Regions from separate parts of the Homo sapiens genome. Here all the other regions are linked to region 2. Evidence: promoter capture Hi-C in 16 types of primary human blood cells and fetal thymus (Javierre and others, 2016). All regions are on one chromosome and are shown on one strand. Each heading gives the region's core, a stretch centred on a gene start or on the middle of the fragment in contact. The rest is flanking DNA. Distances are from core to core; before and after follow the strand shown.

Evidence for each region. Contacts are between HindIII fragments. The CHiCAGO score rates a contact against its expected background, and 5 or more counts as called.
Region 1: a contact is called between the fragment with the promoter of C2orf81 here and the fragment with the promoter of PRADC1 in region 2, in 1 of 17 cell types (naive CD8 T cells). The highest score is 6.2, in naive CD8 T cells.
Region 3: a contact is called between a fragment that was not itself captured here and the fragment with the promoter of PRADC1 in region 2, in 1 of 17 cell types (neutrophils). The highest score is 5.8, in neutrophils.
Region 4: the fragment with the promoter of RTKN here is called in contact with the fragment with the promoter of PRADC1 in region 2 in 1 of 17 cell types (naive CD8 T cells); the score reaches 5.1 in naive CD8 T cells.

The regions. Positions count from the first base shown.
Region 1 is chr2:74,420,297-74,422,996 of GRCh38, forward strand. It overlaps C2orf81 (chromosome 2 open reading frame 81), which reads right to left and starts at 1,323. Exons shown (of 3, transcript NM_001316764.3): 1 at 1,247-1,323. The coding sequence starts at 1,264. WDR54 (WD repeat domain 54) reads left to right here and starts at 1,434. Exons shown (of 10, transcript NM_032118.4): 1 at 1,434-1,520; 2 at 1,857-2,079; 3 at 2,574-2,636. The coding sequence starts at 1,858. RefSeq lists a silencer at 1,254-1,533 and an enhancer at 1,934-2,113. The HindIII fragment of the contact is 12,224 bases long and covers 320-2,700 here.
Region 2 is chr2:73,231,798-73,234,497 of GRCh38, forward strand. PRADC1 (protease associated domain containing 1) reads right to left here and starts at 1,442. Exons shown (of 5, transcript NM_032319.3): 1 at 1,297-1,442. The coding sequence starts at 1,363. It overlaps CCT7 (chaperonin containing TCP1 subunit 7), which reads left to right and starts at 2,511. Exons shown (of 12, transcript NM_006429.4): 1 at 2,511-2,587. The coding sequence starts at 2,582. RefSeq lists a silencer at 1,489-1,698 and enhancers at 1,986-2,517, 2,159-2,208, 2,329-2,398. The HindIII fragment of the contact is 3,259 bases long and covers 1-2,481 here.
Region 3 is chr2:74,397,109-74,399,808 of GRCh38, forward strand. DCTN1-AS1 (DCTN1 antisense RNA 1) reads left to right here. Exons shown (of 3, transcript NR_158174.1): 3 at 1-1,560. Among named protein-coding and RNA genes, the nearest start is that of DCTN1-AS1, 13 kb to the left of the region's middle. The HindIII fragment of the contact is 2,857 bases long and covers 1-2,700 here.
Region 4 is chr2:74,440,570-74,443,269 of GRCh38, forward strand. It overlaps RTKN (rhotekin), which reads right to left and starts at 1,368. Exons shown (of 12, transcript NM_001015055.2): 1 at 1,137-1,368. The coding sequence starts at 1,247. RefSeq lists silencers at 1-293, 1,009-1,068, 1,379-1,458. The HindIII fragment of the contact is 8,784 bases long and covers 1-2,700 here.

The DNA of each region.
Region 1 (2,700 bases), core at 73-2,572, 1.2 Mb after region 2:
AAAAGACTAGTCCCCAAAACTCACTTTAGAGACATAAAAAGTTTACAAACAATCTCTTGGGAGCTCCCTCAATTCCCCACAACAGTCTCCCTGAACCTGGTTCCTTCCAAAATGTACTTCCAAATGTGATCTTCCCAAACCTTTGCCTATTGCCCCGCTAAAACCTTGTCTCATATCTGTTTCCTAAAATTCATTATCCCCCCAAATCTGCTGTTTCCTAAGTCTTGCAGAACTCAAAATCCCTGAAGTCTCATTAACCCTATCCACCAGTGAGAACAGCCCTGTAGCAAGCACCAGGAGTGGCCCATAGCCCAGGCCAAGCTTGACTAGAGCAGGGCTGACTGGACTGAGTAAAGAGAGTTGTTTCCTTAGACCTCCCCTCCCAGCCTCGCATCTGACACCCGTGATGGTGACCAGAAGGGACAGAGATATTTTTGCACAAAGGCTCTTCAAATCCGTTTTCTTTCTTCTTCTTCTTTTTTTTTTTTTTTTTTTTTTTTTTTTGAGACAGTCTCTCTCTGTCACCCAGGCTAGAGCGCAGTGGCGCGATCTCGGCTCACTGCAACCTCCGCCTCCCGAGTTCAAGCAATTCTCCTGCCTCTGCCTCCCGAGTAGCTGGGATTACAGGCACCGCGCCACCACATCCAGCTAATTTTTTGTATTTTAGTCGAGACGGGGTCTCGCCATGTTGGCCTGGCTGGTCTTGAACTCCTGAGCTCAGGCAATCCTCCCGCCTCAGCCTCTCAAAGTGCTGGGATTACAGGCATGAGCCATTGAGACCGGCCCCGTTTTCTTTATTTTAAAATTGATTGGCTCTTAAACAATTTGACTTTCAAGTGCAGTCTCTGAATTATTTAATATATTTCTTCCTCTTGAAATTCTCGAAATAGATTTTTTCTGTTATCTTCCCTCTCTAAATGCTCATCCATTTAAATACGCACCACCATGTAAGAGACTTACTACATTCATTAGCTGTTTCAAAATCCACTTCCTGTTCTCGGGCTCTACACCACCCACTGACCCTTTCCCTCATGGCTTGAGTGTAACAAAGCGTTTGAGTGGGCACCGTGCAGGTGTAGGTTTTCTGCCCGAGTACCGACGTGGCTTCCTTGGTCATCTAAACTCCCGCGCGGTGGGCGGGAGCAAGTAGGGGCACTGGGCGGCCCAGAGCCAGCCCACTGTTCCCGACACCGACCTTAACGGCCGACCCTGGCTCTGGCGCATCCCCAGCTGAACTGAAGCTCACCGAGCCTTCGTGCGCCATCGCCAACGCGGTCGCAGCAACGCTGGTGTTTCTGCTGCATCCGGGCCGCGTAAGCCACCTAACAGTCGCCTGGGCAACCACGGGCTCGGGGTCGCTCGCCCCGCCCACAGTTGCCCCGGCAACCGCGCCGCCCGCGGCACGTTCCGGCCGCTCACCCCGCCCAAGGGCCGTGCGTACGTGCGTCGTCTCTATGGTGGCGGCGGATTTGGAGGGACCCTACGAACCAGGAGTCAGGCGAGCCGATCTGGGGCTGCAGGTGTTACCTCTGATCTAGGCCGGGGGCTTCAGGGATCCGAGCCGAGGGAGAAAGCCTTGGGGGCTTCATCACACTTATTTGGCTCGCGGGCTTGGGGCCATCGGGTGGTCCTGTGTCATCCCCATTCCTCCTCTGCGATTCCCCCGTCGCCCCAAAACAGCCCTGGGACTCCCCTGTCTTGCTCCTCGAGACCCTCCCCCATCACCGTCCTCTGGGCACCCCATCCTATGACCCAGTCTCAGGCATCTTCCGAAATGCTCGATGATAGCCGCCCTCGGGCATCTCCGCTGCGTCTGTTTGTAGCGCGCCTGGTGATTCGGCTGCACCCCCACACAGGATGTTCCGCTGGGAGCGCTCCATTCCCCTGCGAGGCTCGGCCGCCGCCCTGTGCAACAACCTCAGTGTGCTGCAGCTGCCGGCTCGCAACCTCACGTATTTTGGCGTGGTTCATGGACCAAGCGCCCAGCTTCTCAGCGCTGCTCCTGAGGGTGTGCCCTTGGCCCAGCGCCAGCTCCACGCTAAGGAGGGTGCTGGAGTGAGTCCCCCACTTATCACTCAGGTGAGGCATGGAGCTGGGAGTGATGTTGCTGAACCCAGTCCTACCCCCAGCCTTTTCTCTCCAAACCTTCAGGAGCAGGCATGTCCTAACCTCAGAATCTCCCCAGGCATGTCCTAACCTCAGAATCTCCCCTCTCCTGCCGGGCGCGGTGGCTCACGCCTGTAATCCCAACACTTTGGGAGGCTGAGACGGGCACTTGAGGCCAGGAGTTCGAGACCAGCCTGGCCAACATGGTGAAACCTCTTCTCTACTAAGAATACAAAAAAAATTAACCGGGTGTGGTGGCGTGCACCTGTAATCCCAGCTACTTGGGTGGCTGAGGCAGGAGAATCGCTTGAACCCAGGAGGCTGAGGTTGCAGTGAGCCGAGATGGCGCCACTGCACTCCAGCCTGGGCCACAGAGCAAGACTCCGTCCCCCAAAAAAAAAAAAAAAACAAACAAACTCATCTTCCCTGCTTTGATTTTCTCCCTACACTGATGCACCTCCCTCCAGGTCCACTGGTGTGTCCTCCCCTTCCGAGTGCTGCTGGTACTCACCTCACATCGAGGAATACAGGTAAGAAGAGGACTCTCCTGCTTGCCCCACCAGAGCCTTCTCAGCTTCCCTGCCAGGCTTCCAG
Region 2 (2,700 bases), core at 192-2,691:
TTCATTCAGTGAAGAGTCACCAGTGTCTTGCACAGTGGCTACAATATAGGGATAGCCCTATAAACTTTCCTGAATGGGTGAACAACTATATCTAGCTCCACAGCACCGATGAAGAGAATTTCCAGACCACTAGATTTTTCTGGGGCATGGGATCTTCTCCTCAGCACCAAAGTTTAATGTTGTACCTGGACTTGAGTCCCTGGTTTCCTTAACCCAGAGAGACTGCGGAATGTTGAAAGATAAAAACTGCTGTCATGGGCGGGCGCGGTGGCTCACGCCTGTAATCCCAGCACTTTGGGAGGCCGAGGCGGGCAGATCACGAGGTCAGGAGATCGAGACCATCCTGGCTAACACGGTGAAACCCCCGTCTCTACTAAAAATACAAAAAAATTAGCCGGGCGTGGTGGTGGGCGCCTGTAGTCCCAGCTACTTGGGAGGCTGAGGCAGGAGAATGGCGTGAACCCGGGAGGCGGAGCTTGCAGTGAGCCGAGATCGGGCCACTGCACTGCAACCTGGGCGACAGAGCAAGACTCCGTCTCAAAAAAAAAAAAAAGAAAAAAAGAAAACTGCTGTCACAAGTCTGTTAGTCTATCAACAAACTACCAAGTCACTACTGTGTACCAAGGATGGCATTAAGGCTTTAGCTGTCTTTGTTTACTGCCCAAATCACAGCCATCAGTTAGAGCTCCCATGGCTTGGCACTGGGCTATACAGTCCTGGGAGTGGGGACTCCCTCTCGGATACAAATACACCCCCAGAAAGCCTTCCTGGACTAGCGTCAAACTCACTCCCTCCTCCCCAACCCTTGCTTGCCTTTGTGTGTGCTTATTTGTGTAAGTTGTGGGTATACGTATGTGCTCACTTATGTGCATAGATGTATACATTTATGTGCTTGTGTAGGTGTAAACGGTTTGTGCGTGTGTGCCCACGTGTAGGAATGTGTGCTCCTGTGTACATGTGAATGCTCACATACATATCTCCAGCCTGTAGTATCCTTCCTTAGCTGTCCCTTCTGGTCGCACCCTAAGTCACCTGGGTCGGCGCTAGTGGGCGGGGAGGGGCGAGTGGGGAGATCTGCTTTGTCGTGGGAAGGTGAGGAGTCAGAGCTTCAGCCTCAGGCTGCGCCCACTTTATGTCCTTGGACCACCACCCACTTATTCCGGCCGCCCGCTCCCAGACCTGTCCTGCTCTGAACTCGCAGGGTCCCCAAGGTGACCCTTGGCCCCCAACCCGAGACGCGCGCAAGCTGGACGGCCAGCCCCGCCCTGCAACGCAGTCCCACCCGTTGCCGCTCACCGTGGGCCGCGACGCACGCGGGGAGCCAGAGCACGAGACAACACCAGCCCGCGGCGCCGGGGACCATCTCCAGGGCCGGGCCCGGCCCGGCGCCGCGTTTCCTCTCGCCGCCCCGCCGCGCGTCGCTCGCAGGACTTCAGCCTGACAGCTGCTCCGGCCTCCCGCCCACATACCCGCTCTCGCCGCGGGCTGGACGACGGGAACGAGGCTCAAGGCTGATTGGCTCTGACGCCTGCTCATGTAGCCACACTTTCCGCCTCTGCGCCTTAGCCTACTTCCTATTGGTCGAGAGAAGTGGAGCCGGGGGCTGATTGGCTTAAACTCTTAACAGCTACAACCGGCCTTCGCCTCAGCCCCGCCCCAGCATACTCTCCGGGTCCTCGCTGGCGGTGGGCGGGCCAGGGAGGACAAGCACTGGAGGTGTGCCCGTAGCCGGACTTGCTTCAGCTGTCGATAGTCGAGGCCGTTAACCCTTGCGGTCTCGGTCCTGTCCACTCCAAGGCCGCCTCGATTGACGACGATTAGCCTTCTCCCAGCTGCGCTTCCCTCCTCCCAGCTGCGCTTCCCTCCTCCCCACGCCTTCACGGGAAGGCACTCGTCTTGCGCCAGGGGGTCTTCCGCCCAGTGCCACCAACGCTTGCGCGCTCACCGTGGATAGGCGCTGGGGCCGCGGCCTGGCGCACGCCATCCACGAGGAGCCTCTGGCCAGTGCAAAGCCAGAAAACGGGCATTGGGGGCAGCTTCCCACGCTCGTCCCGTTGACACTGACTATGTAACTGTGACACTGGACACCTTGACCTCTCAGCCTCCTTTCTGTCATCAGTAAAATGGCCTTAATAGGACCAACGCAATAGGGTTGTGAGGATTAAATGAGATCGCTCACGTAAAGTGCTTTGGCACCAGCCTATCCCACACTTTGCGTCCCACACTTTTGCCTTTATTGCATTCCTTGGTCTGGCGTCCGGGGATGGAGGAGGGTGGAATTAAGTTAGTAGGTGATGCGGGCCGAGCAAAGACCCTCCGTGCTCTAAGAAGCACGACCGAAATGCGGCGACCCCTCTTTAATGAACGCCCCTCACTAGAGAGTCCCCGAAGCCCAGCCTCAGGTCCTTCTAGCCGCACCGAGTCGGTGGTAACGAACCATAGAGTAGCGGAAGTGGTCCGTTCTCTTCCTCTCCCGGCCCAAGCTTCTGGGTATTTCTATTGCGCGAGGCATTGTGGGTTGCTGGGCGGCCCGGTCTCGGAGAAGAGGGGAGAGTGGCGGGCCGCTGAATAAGCTTCCAAAATGATGGTGAGTGGCGTCTCGCGCATCCGTCGCCATCAGCTGCCATCTGGCCGGTGGCCGGCGCCGCTCGGCCTGGGCTTGCTCTGTAGGACCCTCTTTTGCTTGCCGCCTCTGTCCTC
Region 3 (2,700 bases), core at 136-2,635, 1.2 Mb after region 2:
GATCTCATTAGATTCTCTAAAATCAGGAATACGAAGATGCCGAATATCTCTGAGTCTGATCAACACTGTATTTGAACTAGTGCATCAAGGCAAGAAAAACGTATATAAAAGACATAAAGATTAGAAAGAAGGAAATTAAACTGTCATTTTTCACAGATGATATGATGACTTACATGGAAAAGGCCAAAATAGGCCGGGTGCAGTGGCTCACGCCTGTAATCCCAGCACTTTGGGAGGCCAAGGTGGGTGGATCACTTGAGGTCAGCAGTTCGAGACCAGTCTGGCCAACATGGTGAAACCCCATCACGACTAAAAATACAAAAATTAGCTGGGCATGCTAGCACGTACCTGTAATCCCAGTTACTTGGGAGGCTGAGGCAGGAGAATTGCTTGAACCTGGGAGGGAGGCAGAGGTTGCAGTAAGCCGAGATTGCACCACTGCACTCCAGCCTGGGCGAAGAAGCAAAACTCCATCTCAAAAAAAAAAAAAAAGCCAAAATAATCTGTAAATTATTAGGATTGATTAGAAAATATTTAGCAACGTGACTAGATATAAAATCAACATGCAAAACTCAATTGCATTTCTCTAACCAACAATGAAAAGTTAAATTATATAATTTTTGAAATGAAACTGATGCACCTAGTAATAAACAACAAAATATGTGCACAACCCGGCCAGGCTCAGTGGCTCATACCTGTAATCCCAGCACTTTGGGAGTCCGAGGCAGGCGGATCACAAGGTCAGGAGTTTGAGACCAGCCTGACCAACATGGTAAAACCCCGTCTCTACTAAAAATACAAAAATTAGCCAGGCATGGTGGCACGCGCCTGTAATCCCAGCTACTCAGGATGCCGAGGCAGGGGAATTGCTTGAACCCGGGAGGCAGAGGTTGCAGTGAGCCGAGATTGTGCCACTGCCCTCCAGCCTGAGTGACAGAACGAGACTCCGTCTTAAAAAAAAAGGTGGGGTGGTCAGGCAGGGTAGCTCACGCCTGTAATCCTAACACTTTGGGAGGCCGAGGCAGGCAGATCACTTGAGGTCAGGAGTTCGAGACCAGCCTGGCCAAAATGGTGAAACCCCGTCTCTACTAAAAATACAAAAATTAGCTGAGTGTGATGCCTGTAATCCCAGCTACTTGGGAGGCTGAGACAGAAGAATTGCTTGAACCCGGGAGGTGGAGGCTGCAGTGAGCCGAGATCGCACCACTGCACTCCAGCTTGGGTGACAGAGAGAGACTCCGTCTCAAAAAAATAAAAAAGACTGAGAGATGAGAGATGTGCACAACCCAAAATTACAAAATTATATTTGGAAACATACATTAAAGATAGCCTGTGGCTCACGCCTGTAATCCCAACACTTTGCAAGGCCAAGGCTGGTGGATCACTTGAGGTTAGGAGTTCGAGACCAACCTGGCCAACATGGCAAAACTCCATCTTTATTAAAAATACAAAAATTAGCCGGGTGTGCTGGCACCCGCCTGTAATCACCCAAGAGGCTGAAGCAGGAGAATCGCTTGAACCAGGAGACAGAGGTTACAGTGAGCAGGGATCGTGCCACTATACTCCAGCCTGGGCAAAGAAGCGAGAGTCCATCTGGAAAAAAAAAAAAAGGTAGCTTAAATGAATGAGAGATATAGCACACTTATGAATAGGAAAATTTAAAGTCATAAAGAAGTTAGTTGCCCTGTATTAATAATATGTATTTGAGATAACTCCAATCAATATTCTATCAGGATATTCTAGGAACTTGACAACAAATTAGTAATTTTGTAGAGAAAAGCAAAGGGCAAAAAATTAGCCAGGAAACTTCTGAAAAAAAGAAGACAGTTGACACGGTGAAACCCCATCTCTACTAAACATACAAAAATTAGCCGGGCATGGTGGCGCGCGCCTGTAGTCCCAGCTATTCAGGAGGCTGAGGCAGGAGAATGGTGTGAACCCAGGAGGTGGAGCTTGCAGTGAGCCGAGATTGCGCCACTGCACTCCAGCCTGGGTGACAGAGCAAGACTCCATCTCAAAAAAAAAAAGAGTGTGGCTGTGTGTGTGTGTGCTTATTTTAAAGTTTATTAAGTAAAGCAATATAGTATTGACGTAGGGATAGAAAGAGTCTAGATCTAAAAACAAACTAAAACATATACCTACAAAAACTTCGTTTTTTAAAATTATTATTATTGTTTTAGAGACAGGTTCTCACTCTGTGACCCAGGCTGGAATATAGTAGTGTGATCATAGCCGTAACCTCTAACTCCTGGGCTCAAGCAATCCTTCTGCCTCAGCCTCCTGAGTAGCTAGGATTGCAGGCAGTCATCACCACACCTGGCTAATTTTTTTATTTTTATTTTTGTAGATACGGGGTCTTGCCATGTTGCCTACGTTGGTCTTGAACTCTTGGCCTAAAGTGATTCCCGTACCTTGGCCTCCCCAAGCGCTGGAATTACAGGTGCAAGCCACCACACCAGGCCAAAAACTTAATATATGACAAAATTTGTATTATTGATCAGTGAGGGAAAGATATACCATTCAAAAAATGGTGCTGGGACAATTAGGTATTCAAATGCAAAAGCAAGCAAGAAAGGAAAGAATAAAAGAAGGAAAAAAGGGAGGGAAGGAGGGAGAGAGGAACAAATTAAGTGCTTCCATTTCTGGTGCTACCGTGGACTAAATATTACGGAAACTTCTGATATACTGCAACTAAAAATG
Region 4 (2,700 bases), core at 118-2,617, 1.2 Mb after region 2:
CTCCGAGCTGTCCCCGAAGGCCGGGCTAATCCCAGGGGCGGCCCCAGCTCACAGGCCCCTCCCCCTGGTCCCGGGCCTCGCCCCTTACTCCCCCACGCTGGCCCCACGCGGGTTCCTCGGGCCCAGTCGCTTGGGGGCAAGGGGACGCGACAAAGGCCCCCTCTCCCCAGGTCCACTAGCTTCTGAGTCAGAGAAGGCCCGGGACGCCGGGACAAGGGTGTGAAAGAGCCTCTTTGTTCTGGGCAGGCTGGAGGGAAAGGGCAGAAGCCAGGCCTGGAATCCCAGCCGGGAGGTAGAGGGGGCGGAAGGAAGGCCCACCTCACTTAACCCTTTCCAGACCCGGAAGGGAAGGCTTGGAACTGGGCTCTCCTTGGGCGAGTGTGAGTCTGACCTTGGGGACAGAAGAGTCTTCGGGGTAGCTATTCGCCCTCTCAGTCCCCGCTCAACCACACACCTTCAGCCCCGCCCTAGCCCTTAGGGCGTTACAGGTGGGGATCCAACAGGTTAACGCGTGGACGGCGGACGGGGGAAACGCTCAGCCTAGGGGCTGGACTCCTCTTAGGCCCCAGAAAAGGAGGCGGAAATTTTGCGTGTGGGAAGTAACCCCAAGGAGTTAAAAGCCCTGCAGGGGCATAGAGGAGCCTTTGAATTGGGCTTCGGGGAAGCGAGCGGCCCCGGCCTAAAGTCGGGGTTGATGACAGAGGCTGGCCCAGATGGCTGCGACAGGTTGTGGGATGGGGCTGGCGACTGGGGAACAAGCGGGAGCCCAGGCCAAGAGTCCGAGCGCTTGGGGCCCGCCTAGCTGCCCACCGCCCTTGGCCCGGGGATGCCCAAGACATTTTGGGGTTCAGGCACATTTTAGGAGTCGAGCTGGGGCCCTACAAATTGAGACCAACCCGGGCTTTTTCCAGGCTCAGGCAGATAATCCTAACCAGGCCGCGGAATGGGCAGCATGGATCCGATGAAAATGCAGACCGTCCACACCTTACTTTTTAAGTCAACAACTCCGTCGGGTTTGTACCCAGACCGTGCGTCTCCGCCCCTCGGCGTGCACGCGGGCGAGGGAAGGAGGCCGAGGTGGCTGGGGCTGCCCCCGGGAGCCGCGGAAGGGGAAGGCAGGGACGCGAGTCTCTCACCTCGGGCAGGTCGCTGAAGAGGCTGAGTCGGAAGCGGCCGCGTTTGAACTCCATCTCCAGGGCGGAGCCCCTGGCCACGGTGACCCGGCTCCGGTGGTTTCGGGAGAACATGCTGGCGGCCCTGCGACTTTGCCTGCTCAGTGCGCTCCCCGCGCCGCCCGGCTTAGCCTCCTCTCCTCGGCTTCTGTCTCTCGACGCTCGTCCGCCAGTCCGGCCGGGAATCTCCCGCTGCGGGGCTCCAAACCCCGCCCCCGGAGACGACACCTGGGCCGGGCAGGGCGCGGCAACCTCCTCTTCCACCCCCGCCAAAGGCCCAGCCCGTCCGGCCAGTCCCTGGGCGCCAAGCCGACCTGGCCCGACGGCCCCGGAGCCCCCAGGGGCGCACTGCACCTCGCGAGCACTGTGGGAGCGCGTTCTCCCTGCCCGCGCGGGTCGCGAGCGCCTACCTGGACTTGGGACGGACCGAGAAGCCCTGCCCCGCCAGCCGCCCCAACCTGGCAAGCCTGGCTTCCCGGGCGCTGAAAACCCCGTGGCTCAGGGATCGCCGCGTAGCACGCTCTGGCTCTACTCGGGCCCTGGGACCTTGCCCAGTTTCAATCCCGGCAGCCTCCGAAGAGACCATTTCAACATCCCACAGTCCCAAATGTTCCTTCTTCGTCCCCCTCCCCACCTAGGCTCCTCTGCGAGGCTATCCGCCTAAGCCTAGTGGCCACAACTGATGGGGCGGTGCTTAAACACGTCGTGAAACCCCAGCTCTGTCACTAACTAACCGTGCAATCATTAACTTGGTCCAGTCACTGGCCTTTCTGAGCTTCAGTTTTCTCATTTGTTCAGTGGGAATACTGTAATTATCTCCACTCCTCAAGTTGCTATGAGGATTACCTATAAGAATGAGGGTAAAATGCCCAGCATAGTGCCTGGCACAAGGCAAGTGCCCCATATTTGCAGTCATAAAGAGCAGCTGCGCGCGGTGGCTCACGCCTGTAATCGCAGCACTTTGGGAGGCCTAGGAGGGTGGATCACCTGAGGTTGGGAGTTCGAGACCAGCCTGACCAACATGGAGAAACCCCATCTCTACTAAAAATACAAAATTTAGCCGGCCATGGTGGCACATGCCGGTAATCCCAACTACTTGAGAGGCTGAGGCAGGAGAATCGCTTAAACCCGGGAAGCAGAGGTTGTGGTGAGCTGAGACCCCACCATTGCACTCCACCCTTGGAAACAAGAGCGAAACTACGTCTAAAAAAAAGATGGCTGGGTGCAGTGGCTCAAGCCTGTAATCCTAGCACTTTGGGAGGCCAAGGGGGACTGATCGCTCTTGAGCTCAGGAGTTGGAGACCAGCCTGGGCAACATGAAACCCTGTCTCAACAAAACACACACACACACGCACACACACACACAAATTGGCCTGGCATGGTGGTGCACACCTGTAGTCCCAGCTACTCGGGAGGCTAAGGTGGGAGGATTGCTTGAGCCCGAAAGTTCAAGTCCAGCCTGGGCAACATAGTGGGACCCCATCTCTTAAAAAGCATTACAAATATGTATAATTTTTTATTTTTATTT